4 separate regions of the Homo sapiens genome follow, and regions 1, 2 and 4 are each linked to region 3. The links are contacts of gene promoters, found by promoter capture Hi-C in human tissues and cell types (Jung and others, 2019). All regions are on one chromosome and are shown on one strand. Each heading gives the region's core, a stretch centred on a gene start or on the middle of the fragment in contact. The rest is flanking DNA. Distances are from core to core; before and after follow the strand shown.

Region 1 (2,700 bases), core at 94-2,593, 390 kb after region 3:
GGCAGGCTCAGGAAAGACACTTGCGTGGGAGAGCTAAAACAGATGTCAGGGCAGGGCTTGCCGGTGGAGCTCCTCCCAAGCCCCAGGGGCCCTGCCACACAGCGGCGCCTGGCCCTGGAGCACAGGGCAGGCTCCCAGGTTCTCTGAGACAGCCTCGCATTCCAGGGGCTCCTTTCCTCAGGGCAGGTGGTCAAATACCTAATGACATAAATAGTGTAGCATCCAGATGGTCATCACAAATACATTCCAAATTTTGCAGAGAAACGAAGAATTTTTTCACCATCAGTGTATGTGAGGTCATTTATTACAGGGGCAAAACATGTTTCATCCTCCAGCAGCCCTTAGTTTCTTCTCTTTTAAGCTACAAAGACTCTCAGCCAAAACATCAGAAAGAATTGGCAGGGTCTGTTTACCTAGTTTTAAGAAATCTAACATCTTTTCAATGGGGTCCACCCCAACTTGATGACAATCAAAGCAAACTTTGAGTCTTCTACGTAAAGGATCAGCCCCATTGAATATCCCTTGATGGTGGGTGGGTGACATGTGCGTGTCCTACTGAAACTCGAGCACCTCCACAAAGATTTCGCACTGAGGACACTGCATGGTCCTGGCTCAGCCTGTGACTTCAGACTTGGGACATACAACCTCTGTCTACCCTACAACCTCATGTCACAGAATTCTAGAATGTCCAAGCTGGAAAAGAGCCTGAGAGAAGGGGTTTTCCAGTGTCCACCCCAAGCCTGGATGCTGTGGCATCACCTGGAGGACCCATACTCTGACTGACGCCTGATCCAACCCCACCCCACCCCTAGCTCCAAGGCATCCTGGCTTAGGAGCTCTGGAGTGGTGGGGTCCAGGCATTTGTATTTCCCAATGACTTCTAGGTGATGAGGATGTACATCCAGGTGGCTGCCCTGAGCCTGGCCTCCAGCCTGCATGAAGGCCTGCAGCTCGTCCAGAGCCACATGGCAGGACAAGGCCTCTGGGCCTTCGGCAGGCCCTCAGCACCACCCTCCCTCAAAGCTTGGCCAAGACAATTGCAGTGGGTTGAATGGTGCCCCCAAAAGATATGTTCAAGCCCTGGAATCTGCATGGGACCTCATTTGGAAACAGGATCTTGGAAGATGTAATTAGGTTAAGGATCTTGAGATGAGATCATACTGGATTAGGGTGGGCCCTAAATCCAGTTGCACATCGTTATTACAGAAGTAGAAACTGTCACAGACACACAGAGGAGACAGGCACGTGATGATGATGGAGGCAGAGATGGGATTGATGCAGCCACAAGCCAAGGAATGCCGAGAGCCACTAAGAACTGGAAAAGGTAGGAAGGAGCTTCCCCTAGAGCCTCTGGAGGGAGTGCAGCCCCGTGCACAGCTTGATTTCAGACTTGCGGTCTCCAGAAGTGTGAGAGAATAAATGTGTTTGTTTTGAGCCTCTCGTTTTGTGGTCATTGGCTACCACAGCCCCAGGACACTGACACAACCACCTGCAGGGCCTCCCCCAAGGGCTGCCACCTACTTCCAAGAAAGGGGAAGTTTCAACACTGCTGAGTGAAGCTGCGGCAGGGGCTGCCTCTACCTGCAATGTCTGTATCACAAGTCCTTCCTCCAAACACATCAAATCCGGCATTCCTCAGAAGCAGAGATAGTGGAAGGAAGTGGTATCTGACTGACCCAAGGCCTGGGGGGGCTTGCCCAGAGAGGGTCTCTTTAGGCAAATAGGAAAGATTTTACTCAATTGCAGGTCTCCTGGCATCCACCTTCCCATCTCCCACAGAAGCCCCGTCTGCCTGGCCTAGACACTGAGCCTATGCCAGGGCTCACTTCCCCTGGGGCTAGTGCTGGCCAGGAGGAGAGCAAGCATGACTCTGGAATCATTCCATCCAGACGGATGAGACCACACTGCCTCCTCCTGCCATGCATCTCTTCCCAGCACCATATGGCTCTGCTGAGGATTCCACACTCCACACAGACTCACCACCTTCACCCAGGGGCAAAGTCTCTGAGGTCTGGGCCCCGAATCCCATTTGACAGTCACAGACCCAAGTCTACAGTCTTCGTCTCCATCAAGGAGCAGAAGCAAGGTGGCCCTGTGGCTAAGCAAGTGCTTCCAAGTTCCCCCTGCCTGGGCTGGGACGCAACATCTGCTGCAGACAAGAGCGTGAGCTTTGGGGAGGTGTTTAACTCCTAGGAGCTACATTTGCTCATCTGCAGAAGGAAAGAATCATCGCATTTACCCCCGTGAATGCGGTCAGGGTTAACTGCCATTATGCTTAGCACGGGAGAAGTGCGTGGCAAATGTGATCGTCACTATGAACTTCATTCTGGCTCTGGTCTTCCACAGCCATGTCCCAGCTGTTTGGCAGCCTCTGGGCCATTTGGACTGAGGACAAAAGGCCTTTGGAAGCTTAGCGGAAGCAGGAAGCAGGAAGTGGGCTGAGAGGAGAGGCCCAGAGCGGGTCCTGAGCCTGTGCCCTCACTGGAGGGGTTTGGCCCATCCACTGAGCAGGCAGCATGATGTGGCCAAACCCAAGCTGCTGAGGCAGGAACATCTGGTGCAACATCTGCCTCTAAAGACAGCAGGGAGCCAGGAAGAGCTCAGGGGCCATGGAGCTCTGCTGCATGCCAGGTCCTGCTTCTGCGGCCCCATTGCTCCTCCATGTATTCATGTCCCTGCCCTTGGAGAATCTTCAGTAGC
Region 2 (2,700 bases), core at 131-2,630, 330 kb after region 3:
GTGGTCCTAGAGGGGCACTTCCTGCCGTTATAAAAAGCAAAACCAAGACCCCAGCAAAAACAGCCTGTGTGCAGAACACCCAAGTCGACAGTGTGAGAGCGAAGGCCTAATCCATTCCATATGACAAACAGCAGTGGCCCGCAGGGGCCGGCCAAACCCTGAGGAGAATTCAGAACAGTCCCTCCACCCCCTCCCCTGCCCTGGGTTCCTCGCTGCACCCCCTTCTCCCCACTCCCTTCTCAAGTGGACCCTTCAAAACAGGAGAAAAATATTCTTAGGAGCATGCCCCTAACTTTAAACTGATTATGTTTGGGTTTAATAGCCTACTATGCATTGTTCTTTCTTCACTTTGAAAATAAACTCTAGGAAGCATTAATGCAAATACAATATAAACACGCTCGTTCCTAAATTTTCAAATGTCCCTGGCGTGTTTGGGCTTGCTCCTTAAGGTTACGGGTTAGGTTGATGTAAGAACCAGATGGATCTTTAAGTTGGAAGCTTTGCAGCCCTCGCCATGTAAACAGACAGCTGTCCAGATGATGGGAGGTATAACAGAGCCCCAGGAACAAGGCCTTGGATAACTGCTTGCATTGTCTTTCCTGAACCAGCAAAATGCACAAGCTCTGTGAGGGCTCCTTCCTCTGCAGCAAAATGACAAACATCACTTTAGTTACAGAAGGAGGTGCAATTATAGAGGTGTTGATTCCAGGAGTGAATGAAAGTAACAGCTTTCTATAGTGACCACACTTTCCTCCACCTCTTTATGTTTCTGTAGCTAGCCTTTTCATGCTAAAGGATCTTGTTCCCATCGACAAATGCCCTTCGTTCATTCAGTCCCCATTGAGAGCCAGCAAATAGAACAATCCCTGTCACTGTTACCCTCCAAGGGTAACTTCATGTGCTTATCAGTGACCACATCCAAAGGAGAACCTTTCTACTTCCTGTTTCCTACTTCCTGCTTCCTGCTCCCAAGTTCCATAAACCATTCTCCTTGAGAGGTGCTAAAAATGGAAAGGACAAGATGAAAGAGTTGGCCAAGAGATTTACACCAGCCCATAAAAGTCTCTGCAGTGCTCTGAAGACTAAATTGTCGCTTCTACTTTAACTTAACCTTTCACTGAGTGGTGATCTGAATGTCGTCTATGATTCCACTAAAACCTACGAGGCTTACCATTTGTGGTTTGGTTGTTCTGGATGACTTGACAAATTAGCCTAGTAAATTTTGGATGTCTTAAGCACTAAATTAGGTCATTTGTTTAATGAGCCAATCCACTGCCCAGAGTTTGACCCCAGCCCACTGGGGTGAGTTCACATGGAGTTCCACTGTGGAGGCCGGTGGCCCCTCATTTGTCTTAGGCTTCTAGAGAAACAGCTCCAGAATTAGGGCTGGAATCTGAATTCCAACCTTAACATTGATTCATTAGTGAACATTAACAAAGTGAATTCTTTGGCCTCAGTTTCTCTCCCTCCCACTCTCTTTCTCCAGTATCATTGTCATCATCATCATCATCACCATCATCATCACCCTGCCCCTCAAACGGTGCACAAGCACAATCTCACCCAGCTCTCACAATAACCCCATGAGGCAATGCCCTCACTATCCTCATTTTCCAAATCTTGAAACTGCTGGCTTTCCCAAGAGCACACTCAGTCACTCACACTCACTCACTTATTAAATTTTTCAATAAATATTTGTTAAGCATCTACCAGGTGCCAGTCACTGGGGATACACAGCTGATTAAGCCATAGTTATTGCTTTCAAGGGCTTTATCATTCCATTGAACAGAGTCATGCATATTAATAAATTTAATTTTATTGTTACCATAATTCAGGCAGAAGTACGCCCGAGGCACAACCAACTTTGTCTAAAACATTCCCTGAATTATGCATATGGATTCCAACCTTTTCAAACAATGTCCATTCACTAACATGATGTCCATCCACAAGCCGACATCTGTGCGTGCCTTCTACAAGCGGTACTGTCTACTCACAGCAGGTTTCACAGGTACTGCTGACACATCTAGTACAAAGGGAACTGATGTTACTTTTGAAATAAATTGACACTTCTTTTGAAAGACAGAGTAAAGGTGATCTTCTCATTATTACTTTATTTGCTTCCCCCACACTTCATAGCTTCCCATTTCTCATCTGACTTGCTCTGAACCATTAAGAAAGATGGATCATTCCAAGTTTGGCCAATAATCAACCCACAACCTGCCCTCCTTCATGGCCATATTTTGTTTTGTTATGTTACAAAGGACGCCTGAGAGAGCTAGCCAGGAAGAGTTACTTCTGAGAAACGACAAGCTCAGGACCTTTCCAAAGGCTCTCACTGCCCCCATATGTGACAAGGGCAGTGTGAATGCCATGGCCGCGCCATCCCGTGGCTGCCTCCACAGACCTGCCCCATGCCAGTAGGAAGTTCCTTTTTTTCCCCTCTGCCTAAATATACACTGACATGGTCAGAGATCTAATGGTAGATTTGAGTATTTAGGAAAAACAAGGACCATGGAACAATTGCTTTGCCTACTTACACCACGGGTGGTAACACTGCCAATGAAATTGGTAGTTCAAACTTTTTGCAATTGGTGCAAGTATATAAAACCTCAAATCCCCGCCCCACAACACACAGAGAGAGGGGATGGAAGGAGAGAAAGAGACACCCACACACACGCACACACATTGACGTGTACCTTGAAA
Region 3 (2,700 bases), core at 88-2,587:
CCAGTTATCCGAATGTGTGTGTGTGTGTGTGGGTGTGTGTGTGACAGTGTGTGTGTGTTTTAATATTCAGGGGGTGGTCATAAACAGGAAGTAGTCACACTAGGTGCCTCTACCCTTACCCTAACCGGTGGAGTGGGGAGGAGAGGCCCCCTTCGAAATCAGCATGATTCAGGATTTTTTATTCAAACAGTGATGTGGGAAAATGTAAAATGAGATGGGGGTGGAGGGCCGCGTACACCCCAGGGTGGGTGGATACAGGGAGAGCAAGCAGGCTTCCCAAATGCCTAATGTAATCACGGGCCAGCTGCATGCACTTGTAAAGTTGTTATAACCCCCTCCTTGTTATAAACAGGAAAGCCCAGAATATAAAGCTGGAGACCCACATTCACAAATACCAGGCCTCCCGCGCCAGCTGCCACGGCCTCCTTTTATGGTGTTCCTCTCTTGCAACCTTGGCCCCATCAGGAGGACCTTACTTTTGCCCCCGGTTCTCTAAATGGGTTTATTTTGAAACCTTCCTCAATGGAGCTGTGGACCATGAGCTCTTCCCCAGGCCCCCAGTGCCTTAGGCCTTCCCTTCCAGAGAGACTGGGCTCCCAGAGTCCACTTTCCCTCCGATTTCCGGAGAGCCCTGGAAGGGAGGGTGTGGGAGAGCAGGTCCCTAGAGAGTGCCACCTCCTACTGGGTCTGCCACCTGTTTTTCCAGGGAGGGCCGCATCCCCTTCTCAGCAGACACTCAGGCTTCTTAGATACTCTCCCTGCCCCAATCTAAAAGGTTCCTAGGACCTCAGAAAGTGTTTTACTAGACTGTGGCATCTCGATATCTCCGGTTAAGCCTGGGAGAAGAAAAGACCTTTTGTGGGAGGCCCTGGCGTTATGGGGCTCCCCCAGGCCAGCGTAAAACTCATCCCTGCACACCCACCCCCATCTCCACCTCTCCTTCCTGGCTCAGCAGACCCTGCTCTGAGCCACCGCAGTCTACATCCTGCCTCACTGACTGTGTGTGCTTACAGCGTCAAGGGGTGGACGTGATATTTCAAACATCAGATCAGTGCGTTTATATATTGGGTGCCCGGAAATTTTTCCAAATAAACACAGCTTGATTCAACTTGGGTGGGCGGACTTATCAACAGACTAATTCTATAAACAAATGAAGGAATAGCCCCAAAACCGATTGGCTGGTATCAAAAAGACACGTGGAGGGAAAAGCTTGGAGTTTTTCAGCAATGAAATTTTAATTAATGTGGGTGGGCTGAGAACACAAGGACTGTTTATCATAGACAATTTATTTTCCAGGGCTAAGTCAACATATAACAGCAAACTTACAACAATTATTTAACATTTTTAAAGCCATGAAGAAGGGACAGAGCACGGAGCGGCCGGGGAGAGCGGCAGAGCCAGAGGCAGAGGCACGGCTGGCTCCCCGGGAGGGCCCTTGCGGCGCGGGGCGCAGTGCCTAGGCCGCCCGGGTCTCCTGCGTTGCGGGGAGCGCAGCGCAGGCTCTCGCTTGCCATGAGTCACCTCTTCGATCCCCGGCTGCCTGCCCTGGCCGCCTCGCCCATGCTGTATCTGTACGGTCCCGAGAGACCCGGCCTCCCTCTGGCCTTCGCCCCCGCGGCTGCTCTAGCTGCCTCGGGCCGGGCCGAGACCCCGCAGAAGCCTCCCTACAGCTACATCGCGCTCATCGCCATGGCGATCCAGGACGCGCCCGAGCAGAGGGTCACGCTCAACGGCATCTACCAGTTCATCATGGACCGCTTCCCCTTCTACCACGACAACCGGCAGGGCTGGCAGAACAGCATCCGCCACAACCTCTCGCTCAACGACTGCTTCGTCAAGGTGCCCCGCGAGAAAGGGCGGCCGGGCAAGGGCAGCTACTGGACGCTGGACCCCCGCTGCCTGGACATGTTTGAGAACGGCAACTACCGGCGCCGGAAGAGGAAGCCCAAGCCGGGCCCCGGGGCCCCGGAGGCCAAGAGGCCCCGCGCCGAGACGCACCAGCGCAGCGCGGAGGCGCAGCCGGAGGCGGGGAGCGGGGCAGGGGGCTCGGGCCCCGCAATCTCCCGCCTGCAGGCAGCGCCCGCGGGCCCCTCGCCCCTCCTGGACGGCCCCTCTCCGCCGGCGCCCCTCCACTGGCCGGGGACCGCGTCCCCGAACGAGGACGCTGGTGACGCTGCCCAGGGCGCAGCGGCCGTGGCGGTCGGCCAGGCAGCGCGCACAGGGGACGGCCCGGGGTCCCCTCTGCGCCCCGCCTCCCGCAGCTCTCCGAAGAGCTCCGACAAGTCCAAGAGCTTCAGCATAGACAGCATCCTGGCGGGAAAGCAGGGCCAGAAGCCGCCTTCAGGGGACGAACTCCTAGGGGGTGCCAAGCCTGGGCCCGGCGGCCGTCTGGGTGCCTCGCTCCTGGCCGCCTCCTCCAGCCTCCGTCCGCCTTTCAACGCTTCCCTGATGCTCGACCCGCATGTCCAGGGCGGCTTTTACCAGCTCGGGATCCCCTTCCTCTCTTATTTCCCCCTGCAGGTTCCCGACACGGTACTCCACTTCCAGTAAAGCAAACAATGGCACGGTTCTTCTCCCGGCCCAGCCTGAGCCTCCGCTGAGCGAAAGGCCACAGCTCCCACCGGCGGAGGATTTTAAAATGATCTTTGCCTGGGTCGGCCTGTGGGTTCAGGGAAGTGTTACCAACCATTGCGCGCAGGT
Region 4 (2,700 bases), core at 83-2,582, 420 kb after region 3:
ATGCCGAGGACAGTTGCCCTGGTGGGCTGCCTGAAACTGCAGTGGGCTTGGCATGAGTGAGAGTTGGATTTCTGTTGTGTTACCTACTGCGATTTGGGGGCTGTTTGTTAGGGCGGCATAGCATAGCAGAGCCTCACTGCTACAGAAAGACTTGGCTAAGTGGTGAATCACACATGACTCTTCCCTTGCAGAGCTCATGGTTTAGTAGGGCAGATGAGATCTATGTGTAAAAAACTGTAACAGAGGCTGGGTGGTGGGCCTCAGGGCTTGCCCGATTTCAGAGCCAGCCCTGGAGAAGTTGCACCAATCGAGCAAAGACTTGAAAGAGAGCATGACCCAGGAGAGTGAATGTCATTCCAGCTGGAAGGAACAGCATGAGCAAAGATCCAGAGGCCAGAAATTAAGGGGCGTGATGAGTTTGTCAGAGTTGAGGATGTGGGAAGAGAAATGGGAGAAAATAAGGCTAGAAAACACCACTGGCCCCAAGATCATGAAGGGCCTCACATTTCAGATAAAGGAGTTTGGATGCATTTCTACATACTAGCGTTTCTCCAGGAAACCTGAGTCTCGTAATACACACCTAGAAGGTAAGAGCTTCATCATGAAGACATTTAGAAAAAGCTACACCCCCCACTTCCTTCTTAATATGATGTTAACAGAGTCAAGCCTCTGAGAAGTCCTGCAGTAAGGAATCCAACTAGATTTGCTTAATGCAGCATTTCTCAGCCCTGTTGGAGCAGGAGCTCTTTTTTGACATACTTGGGGAAACATTGATGAGCAGAAGGATTTATAAGCGGGAAGATGGCAGGAGACAGGCCTGTGAGGCGGGGAGATTCATCAGCAGCAAGGAGACAGACAGGACAGCCGCTGCCAGCTCACATCCACCCCCTACCCCCCACCACCCACCTCAGCTGGCCTCGCCGCAGCCAGGCGGACCAGTCCATGCAGGCTCCAGCCCCTCCGTGCTGGCTCATTGTGCCACAAGCACAGGCCGCTGGTCTCCAGTCCTTCCCAGAACTTCTCCAGTGCCGTGAGGCTGAGGAAGCCCCTCGGGCCTTCCACATCACCGCAGGGAAGTGGGGAGTCAGCGCTTGACCCATGAAGGGACGAGATCCATAGATAAGTACTCCTTTTGGGCAGACAATTCTAGGAGGTGTTCTGTGCACGTCTTAGGAGGTCACGGTGGGACTGCACCCCGTGCCCCAGCAGCGACGTCAATCGCACAGCCTGCTCCTCCTGACTTGCCACTGAACCCATGCGCCCTGGACAACCTCCCAAGGAACCCACCACTGCTCCACGGGCAAGTTGCCGGCTGCCTTTGGGGAGCCCAAGATAAGAGCAGGGGTGGATTAGAAGGATGGTGGGGGAACGAAAGCCACGTGTGGGACAAAAGACGATCATGAAAGCTCGTCTAGACCCAGGAAGGAAACCTAAGTGTCCAGATGAACACCGCTCCACAGAGAAGTGGCAGCAGAGCAGCGGACGGCAGAAACCACGCCTTGCCGAGCTCCCACGGGGCCAGAATCTACCCCACAATTCGGCTTCATCTTAATCTACTAAGCCTCCCTGCAAAGACTTTTATCACTTCTTTGATTTTACAAATTTGGAAACTAAGGCTCAGAGAAGTGTGGTTTTACCTCTGAAACACGCAACTTCCCACCCACCCAAAATGAGTGATGGAGAAAGAACCAACAGGATTGGGCAACTGTTGGATGTTGAGCAAGAGGGAGAGAAGAGTTGACTCGGAGGTTGGTATACTCCAAGAAGGCTTCCTGGAGGAAGTGGACAATTCAGAACACAGGACCCTTTATCCAAATCAAATACAAATAGGGAACACTATTATTAAGTATTATCTCCTATCTCTGTAAAAAGCCTTGTGGCCAGGGGGTGTTCTGGAAATGCTAGTTAATTTCTGGTTAAATATTGGATCCCTGGGAGTTCTTTAAAGGCTCGTTTACCCAGCCTGGAAGTTAAGCCTGTAACTTAAACGCATTGTCAAAACCAGGAAACATTTACCCCCCAGTCCAGACCACAGCTGAGTCATTGGCCAGGAGAAGCTCAGTCTGTGTGCAGAGAGCTGGAGATTATCTCATCTTCCAGGCACTTGTAGACATCCAATCTGGACAAATCATGTCCCACTCCCAAGAATCTGCAAGAAATGGCCTGATGTGTCTCCCACAGAACAGCCGATGATGATAACTCATTGTCACTCGAGCCAGTGGGCAGATAATGACCCCGCTGACAGGGTCCAGCCTGCTGCTCCGCCCCAGCAGACATGCTCCAACAATGGCTTCATCATCCTCCCCACCGGGACTGTGTAGATGAGGGAGGTGCCTCCCGCGGTGCAGGCTGTGAGCTCTAAGCAGTCACGCTGGACGCTGGACCAGTGCCCTGGGCTGCTCCTCCCTGCAGCCCCACGAGCCCAGGTAGGGATCACCAGAGGTCGTTTCACTCCCAAGTGGAGTGATAAGTCAGTCCTTCTACAGGAAGATTTCTCACAAAGTGCCCTACTGCACTGTCAAAGGGTAAAAAGGAGAAAAAAAATAATAAAGCCAGAGGCAAGGGCTCCAGGCAAGAGCAAGATGACAATATTTGTACAGCGGGGTTTGGAGAGGAGCCCCCGTGAGAGCCCAGCGTCTGAGAGAGCCAGTCCTTTGAACTGTCCCACCCTTTGTTATGACAAGAGACTTGATAAGCCCA

The links. Contacts are between HindIII fragments. The study calls those that stand out against the background at their distance.
Region 1: a contact is called between a fragment that was not itself captured here and the fragment with the promoter of FOXL1 in region 3, in 2 of the 25 tissues and cell types used here (IMR-90 fibroblasts and aorta).
Region 2: a fragment that was not itself captured here is called in contact with the fragment with the promoter of FOXL1 in region 3 in 1 of the 25 tissues and cell types used here (lymphoblastoid cells).
Region 4: a fragment that was not itself captured here is called in contact with the fragment with the promoter of FOXL1 in region 3 in 2 of the 25 tissues and cell types used here (IMR-90 fibroblasts and lymphoblastoid cells).

Annotation. Positions count from the first base shown.
Region 1 is chr16:86,969,021-86,971,720 of GRCh38, forward strand. No RefSeq gene overlaps it. Among named protein-coding and RNA genes, the nearest start is that of LINC02181, 87 kb to the right of the region's middle. RefSeq lists an enhancer at 9-509. The HindIII fragment of the contact is 4,579 bases long and covers 1-2,700 here.
Region 2 is chr16:86,910,564-86,913,263 of GRCh38, forward strand. No RefSeq gene overlaps it. Among named protein-coding and RNA genes, the nearest start is that of LINC02181, 150 kb to the right of the region's middle. RefSeq lists an enhancer at 1-2,006. The HindIII fragment of the contact is 9,380 bases long and covers 1-2,700 here.
Region 3 is chr16:86,577,212-86,579,911 of GRCh38, forward strand. FOXL1 (forkhead box L1) reads left to right here and starts at 1,338. Exons shown (of 1, transcript NM_005250.3): 1 at 1,338-2,700. The coding sequence starts at 1,513. The coding sequence ends at 2,550. RefSeq lists an enhancer at 2,198-2,700. The HindIII fragment of the contact is 9,412 bases long and covers 1-2,700 here.
Region 4 is chr16:86,992,687-86,995,386 of GRCh38, forward strand. No RefSeq gene overlaps it. Among named protein-coding and RNA genes, the nearest start is that of LINC02181, 64 kb to the right of the region's middle. The HindIII fragment of the contact is 6,483 bases long and covers 1-2,700 here.